Linked DNA regions of Homo sapiens: region 1 is linked to region 2. The links are contacts of gene promoters, found by promoter capture Hi-C in blood cells and fetal thymus (Javierre and others, 2016). All regions are on one chromosome and are shown on one strand. The core of a region is centred on a gene start or on the middle of the fragment in contact, and the rest is flanking DNA. Distances in the headings are between cores, read along the strand shown.

Region 1 (3,598 bases), core at 54-2,553, 620 kb after region 2:
TCCTCACATCCATCCATCTCCATCAAATCTTTAACAATTCTCCTCTGTCTTTTTTGACTGTAGGGACCTTTAGAACACCCAGCATTAAAAAATAGATTTCAGGCCGGGCATGGGGGCTCACGCCTGTAATCCCAGCACTTTGGGAGGGCCGAGGCAGGAGGATTTCGTAAGGTCAGGAGTTTGAGACCAGCCTGGCCAACATAGTGAAACCCTGTCTCTACTAAAAATCCAAAACTTAGCCGGCAGTAGTGGCGCGTGCCTGTAATCCAGCTACTCTGGAGACTGAGGCAGGAGAATTGCTTGATCCTGGGAGGTGGAGGTTGTGATGAATTGAGATCGCGCCATTGCACTCCAGTCTGGGCAACAGAGTGAGACCCTGTCTCAAAAAAACAAAAGGAATATTTTTTAAATTTTTACCGTTCTGAAAGCACATTGACATCCTTTGAATTTTTTTCTAATTATTTCACTTTGATTTGTAAATTCTCAACTAGATTCAGGGGCTGTATGGGTTACAATTCCTCTGCACCCTCCACAGAATTTCAGACTTTTTTTTTTCCCCCGAGACAGAGTCTCGCTCTGTCACCCAGGCTGGAGTGCAGTGGCGCGATCTTGGCTCACTGCAACCTCCCCCTCCCGGGTCAAGCGATTCTCCTGCCTCAGCCTCCCGAGTAGCTGGGACTACAGGCGCCCGCCACCACGCCCGGCTAATGTTTGTATTTTTAGTAGAGACGGGGTTTCACCATGTTGGCCAGGCTGGCCTCGAACTTCTGGCTTTAAGTGATCCGCCTGCCTCGGCCTCCCAAAGTGCTGCGATTCCAGGCGTGAGCCACCGCGCCCGGCCAAGGTCTTAATTCTTGCCTGCCTTTCTGCTCCCCTGTGAACTCTACTGGTTGTCTTTTTTCCTGCTTTATCCCTCGTCCTCGGTAGACAGTGATGGTTAAATGAATGAATGCATGAACAAATGACTGTCCAGGAGCTAGTACTGCATTGCATGTACACATTGATGACAACAGACATCGTACAATGCGCAATCTTGGCAAATTTATTCAAACCCTTTAGACTTCGCTCTCTCACAGTGCGACGCCGGGAGCCCATCACACGCTGAGGTCTGTCAGAGGCCCCAGAAACAGCCTCGGAAATGGAGGAGGCGGGGCTTCACCCCGACCACACCCCCTTGCGTTCAAAGCCTTTCCGCCTATGGGCCCGCCTCCTCGGCGCAGTGTGCAACTCTAATTGGTCGTCTCACTAATCCATCTGAGCACCTCGGCGCCGACTGGATCAACTGCTGAACTCGGGTTGCGCACTTCCCGGCGCTGGGAACGCGGAGCGGACGCAGTCTGGCCGCCATTGCGCTGCGGGGAAAGCGGCCTCTTGTGTGAGGGCCTGTGGGGTGCGTGGCAGGCGTTTAAGGCCGGGCTGCGGGAGGCGTGGTCGGGTCGGGCCGAGTGACCGAAGGGGTTAGGCCGGGCGGGGCTGGATGCACTGTGTGGCGGGACTGCAGGCCGGGGTCCCCGGACGCCTTTCTGCTGCGCTTCTTGTGGGCCCGGGCCTGTGGTTAGTGAATTTTTCTATCCCGCCGCTCCCCAGATTCTCCGGATATGGCCGGAGTGTTTCCTTATCGAGGGCCGGGTAACCCGGTGCCTGGCCCTCTAGCCCCGCTACCGGACTACATGTCGGAGGAGAAGCTGCAGGAGAAAGGTGAGGCGAGAGTGTGGAGCGGCGCGCGGGCCGGAGGCGGGGCGGGTGTGCGCGCGCGCAGGCGGGTGGGGACCCTCCCCGTTTGGGCAGCTCCTGAGGTGTCAGCTCCCTTGTTATTTCCAGTTAATTTTTCATCAAGTCATTTTAAGCGCGTATTATTTGCAAGCGCTGATCCAGCGGGGGTACAGTAGTGACGGAGACAAAATTCCTGTCCTTACGGGGTTTAAATTACAGCGGGAGAGACAGAGAATAACAAAACCTTGAAGCTCTGTAATAAAAATGTCAGGCCGGGCGCGGTGGCTCACGGTTGTAATCCCAGCACTTTGGGAGGCCCAGGCGGGCGGATCACCTGAGGTCAGGAGTTCGAGACCAGCCTGGCCAACACAGTGAAACCTCGTCTCTACGAAAAATACAAAAATGAGTCGTGTGTGGTGGCGCGTGTCTATAATCCCAGCTACTGGGGAGGCTGAGGCAGGAGAATGGCTTGAACCCAGGAGGCGGAGGTTGCAGTGAGCCGACATCGCACCATTGCACTCCAGCCTGGGAGACAGAGTGAAACAACCTCTCAAAAAAAAAAAAAAAAGTCAGATAGTGATCAATGTGATGAAAGGAAAAACAGAGTAAAATGGTAAGGGAATTGGCAAGGGGTGCTTCTTCCTGCTGGTGCCTGCTTCTCCCTCACACTCACTGACAGGAGCTTACCCTAGGGCAAGAGGTGAAGAGGATTAGGGGGAGGGTGTGCAGGCCTTTAAACTGAGGTGCCTTTCCAGCTCGAAAATGGCAGCAATTGCAGGCCAAGCGCTATGCAGAAAAGCGGAAGTTTGGGTTTGTGGATGCCCAGAAGGAAGACATGCCCCCAGAACATGTCAGGAAGATCATTCGAGACCATGGAGACATGACCAACAGGAAGTTCCGCCATGACAAAAGGGTTTACTTGGGGTAAGGAACATCCTGAAATAATTTCATTTGGAATTTGGCCCTTTTCCCTTCTCCCTGTCCCACAGTCTTGGATTGATGCTTTGACAGCTCATCTTGGTGGATATAAGAGAAAGGAGAAAACCAGTAGGAGTCTCTGATAATTTCTACATCTTCCACTTTTGCAGTCTGTTTCCCCTCTCTTCCCGATCTGGGACTGGTGCTTTAATTTGTCCTGTTGATGATATTATAAGATGTCCCTGGCCAGGCGCGGTGGCTCATGCCTGTAATCCCAGCACTTTGGGAGGCCGAGGCGGGTGGATCATGAGGTCAGGAGATCGAGACCATCCTGGCTAACACGGTGAAACCCCGTCTCTACTAAAAATACACAAAATTAGCTGGGCGTGGTGGCAGGTGTCTGTAGTCCCAGCTACTTGGGAGGCTGAGGCAGGAGAATGGCGTGAACCTGGGAGGCGGAACTTGTAGTGAGCCGAGATCACACCACTGCACTCTGGCCTGGGCGAAAGTACGAGACTCCGTCTCAAAAAAAAAAAAAAAATGAAAAATAAGATGTCCCTATGGTTGAGCTGGTTGAAGTCCAGAGTGGGATACTGTGCATAGTGGCAGCCTGTCGCTCCTCAGGGACCTGAATTCTGTGTTTGGGGTATTTAATTTCAGAGGTTTCCCTACTCCTGTTTTTTCTGTGGCTCTAAACTGGGCTAGTACAGGTACAGATGTCTTAGCAGATTCCTGTTCTATTTGGACACAAAAATGTTTGCCATGTAATGAACTGGAAGTTTTGTTTATTTCAAAAAATACTTAGAGAACTGTGCTGGCTGCTGGGGATATAGTAGCGAGCAGAGGGTAACAATCTCCGCCTTTCTGCAGTGTGCGGTCTAGTGGCCTGACAGACATGAGACAACTGGTGATAGTGAAGTATGGTGAATACTTTATTATGATTTATGGGAAGATGCGGAGGGAATAG
Region 2 (3,612 bases), core at 486-2,985:
TTCTGGAACTCGTATTTAATTATTAATTTTTTGTACCCCTTCTCCATGTCTCCTATCTTTGTCTCTCAGTTTTTATCTATTACCTTTTCCTTCTGAGTTCTGGTAAATTTTCTTGAACTGGTTTAACTTTTGGCATATCTAATCTGCAGTTCACTGACACTGTTGCATTAAATGGGTGGTGCCATTTGTCCTAAGAAAGTTTTCTTGTTTTCCATTATTTTTCCAGCTGAAAAAAGAAATCATGCAATGGCCTCTCAAATTTCAATATGAAACAGATTATTTTTTAACGCTTCTTCCTATTTCTCTCAAATCTGGTGGCAAAGGCTGTCTTCTGCTCTGACCACTCAAATGGTTCCTCTTCTGAACTGTTGGATCTTTTCACCCATCATCTACTGACTTTCTTCTTATGCTTAACCTTCCGGTGACAAAGTGTCACGTAAAAGGAACTGAAGGAGTTCTGTCAGAGGTTGTGGCAATCCCTTCGGCTCAGACTAAGGAATAATTGGTAACTATTCTGTGATGGGTGTGGGGTAAAAGCCTATGGGGCTGTGGAGGGGCAACAGGTGGAGGCAGGAGGCCTTGGGGAAGGGAGCTTCACCTCTGTACAGTTCTCCAAAAAAAGATTCAAGTACCAGCCTTCTGGTATAGTTCAATTTTAAAGATGGGAAATTAAAAAGTCAACCTGAGATCCACAGCAGTAATTTTTTTCAAGAATCCATAGTGACACAGAAATTCCCAAATTGACTTTTTTTTTTTTTTGAGGCGGAGTCTCGCTCTGTTGGAGACTCCCGGGCTGGAGTGCAGTGGCGCGATCTCGGCTCACTGCAGTCTCCGCCTCCCGGGTTCAAGCGATCCGCCCGTCTCAGCGTTCCGAGTCGCCGGGATTACAGGTCCCAAATGGACTTATATGCCTCCTGATGTACTTCCTTCCACACGATTCCAACTATATCGTATCTAGTTTTTAAAAGTCAGGGGGCGGCCGGGCGCGGTGGCTCACGCCTGTAATCCCAGCACTTTGGGAGGCCGACGCGGGTGGATCACCTGAGGTCAGGAGTTCGAGACCAGCCTAGTGAAACCCCGTCTCTACAAAAAATACAAAAATTAGCCGGGCTTGGTGGCGTGCACCTGTAATCCCAGCTACTAGGGAGGCTGAGGCAGGAGAATCGCTTGAATCCAGGAGGCAGAGGTTGCAGTGAGCCGAGACCGCGCCACTGCACTCCAGCCCGGGAGTCTCCAACAGAGCGAGACTCCAACTAAAAAAAAAAGGGAATAGTAACAACTACTCTTAGCAGATCTTCAAGGTCCCAAGTAATGGCCCGCGGCGCTAGGCCGGGCCTGTGGCGGGAGAGCCTGGCCTAAGGTGTCCAGAGGAGCCCAGGCTGAGGGGTGTCTCTGTCAACCCGAGTCCCAGACTAGCAGTGTCCTTGGTGTCCACGACAACAGCAACGGCAGCCACCGCCGCAAACGCCCGCCTGGCCTGGCACGGCCCGGCCTCGCCTCACCTCAGCTCACCGGCGCCGCGCCTCCAGCTCCAGCCTCCGCGCGCCTCCCCGGCCGCACCTCTGCGCACGCGCAGCGCCCGCCCGCCCCACCCAGGCTCTCGCTCCGGTCCCGCCCCTCTGGAACCGGCGGCGGGCGCTTTTCCTCCCAGCGCGGCCACCGTCGTTCGGAAAGGGAGGGCGGCAGGGGGCGGGGAAAGGCCGGGAGGTGGGCGAGCGCGCGCGCCGCCCGTCTGTGGTGGTTTCCTGGCTGCGCGCGGCGGTGGCGGAGCCGCTACGGCTGTAGCAGCAGCCGCGAAGATGGCGGAAGGGCTGGAGCGTGTGCGGATCTCCGCGTCGGAGCTGCGCGGGATCCTGGCTACTCTGGCCCCGCAGGCCGGGAGCAGAGGTGAGTCGCGCCGCCCAGCTCCTGGGCCGGGCCTGCCCGCCCCGCCTCCCTCTCCTCCTCCTCTGCCTCCTCCCCGCTCGGCCCTCGGCTCCGGAGCCCCCGCCCCTTCCCCCAGCAGTAGGCGCTGGGGCCGCGGCGGACCCTCGCTGCCCTACCTCTCTCGCGGGTTAGTGCGGGGTCGGGCTCGGCCAGTCCTGGCCAGCTCCGGGAGAGCCTGGCCCGAATTCCTGCCTCCACCCTCTTTCTCGCCGCGAAGGTGACTGTTCCTTTTGCCCCAGCCCTCTCAGACCCGCCCCGGATTCCCAGGCATCGGGAGACGCGGAAAGGAGTGGGGTCTGGTGGAGGCCCCGGGCGTATCGCTCTCCAGGCCGCCCTCCGCGGGCCTGCCCCGGCCACCGCTTTAACGTCGGAGAGAAGGAATTGGGGAGAAAGGTTTAAGAGCCTGCGACTTCGTTGCTGAACTTTTCCCCCCCAAGACAGGCTTCCGAAAGCTGCGCCACTGGAGGGATCCGGGACCTCAGACTACTCGGGTTTGGCCCTGGCATGTGTGGGAGCAGTTTTTATTAGAGAGAATGCTCAATTTGCAAGTTAATTTCAAGTCTCCAGCCACGTCAGGAAAGTAAGAAAGATTCTAAGTGTCTCACCTCTCCTGCGTTAGGCAATAGAGTTGTGTAGAATGGTAGCTGTGATAGGTGCCTTCTCTAGGTTTGCGGCCAGTCTGTGAAATTGGTTTTTGTTGATTAACATAATTGGATTATTAAGGCTATTTTCTCCCGCTGCTCTAGAAAGTAGTAGGAATAGCTTTCCCCATCCCCCCGCCCCCCACCAAGTTACAGACTGCCGAGGGTGAGCTATTCTTGGGTTAAACTGCTTTATCTTTGTGGATACTTCATGAACCTACCTTTTAAACTTATGAAAATAGTGAAGCACTATCCAAAACCTCAGTCTCTTTTCTTCCCCTTTTCCTTACACCTACAAACAGTAAATGTACTTGCTGGAGCATATGATTCCTGTTTTGGGCTTGTTTCCATTTATATTTAGAGAGCAATACTAGGATTAAAAACTTTTTTATTGTTGTTATTATTATTTTTTGAGACGGAGTCTAGCTCTGTCGCCCAGGCTGGAGTGCAGTGGCGCGATCTCTGCTCACTGCAACCTCCGCCTCCCGGGTTCACGCCATTCTCCTACCTCAGCCTCCCCAGTAGCTTGGACTGTAGGCGTGTGCCACCACGCCTGGCTAATTTTTTGTATTTTTGTAGTGACGGGGTTTCTCCGTGTTGGCCAGGATGGTCTGGACTCCTGTCCTCGTGATCCGCCCGCCTTGGCCTCCCAAAGTGCTGGGATTACAGGCGTGAGCCACCGTGCCCGGCCAATTTTTTTGAGGCAGGGTCTCACTCTGTCTTCCAGGCTGGAGTGCAGTGGAGGGATCTCAGCTCACTGTAGCCTCCCCCTCCTGTGCTCAAGTGATCCTCCCACCTCAGCCTTCCGAGTAGCTGGAATTACAGACCTGCACCACCACACCTGGCTATTTTTTGTATACGTTATAGAGACAGGGTGTTGCCATGTTGCCCAGGCTGATCTCGAACTCCTGGCCTCAAGCAGTCCTCCCGCCTCAGCCTCCCAAAGTGCTGGGATTATAGGCGTGAGCTACTGCACCTGGCCTATGCTAGGATTTTATATAGCATTCCATTTGTGTACTTGATAATATTCTCCCGAATTCTGTCA

The links. Contacts are between HindIII fragments. The CHiCAGO score rates a contact against its expected background, and 5 or more counts as called.
Region 1: the fragment with the promoter of PRPF8 here is called in contact with the fragment with the promoter of SMG6 in region 2 in 8 of 17 cell types (naive CD8 T cells, fetal thymus, total CD4 T cells and 5 more); the score reaches 10.9 in naive CD8 T cells.

Annotation. Positions count from the first base shown.
Region 1 is chr17:1,682,572-1,686,169 of GRCh38, reverse strand. PRPF8 (pre-mRNA processing factor 8) reads left to right here and starts at 1,303. Exons shown (of 43, transcript NM_006445.4): 1 at 1,303-1,390; 2 at 1,588-1,698; 3 at 2,469-2,637. The coding sequence starts at 1,599. The HindIII fragment of the contact is 11,873 bases long and covers 1-3,598 here.
Region 2 is chr17:2,301,908-2,305,519 of GRCh38, reverse strand. SMG6 (SMG6 nonsense mediated mRNA decay factor) reads left to right here and starts at 1,735. Exons shown (of 19, transcript NM_017575.5): 1 at 1,735-1,887. The coding sequence starts at 1,800. SRR (serine racemase) reads right to left here and starts at 1,570. Exons shown (of 8, transcript NM_021947.3): 1 at 1,503-1,570. RefSeq lists silencers at 1,486-1,705, 1,896-2,105 and enhancers at 1,607-2,333, 2,663-3,477. The HindIII fragment of the contact is 10,069 bases long and covers 1-3,612 here.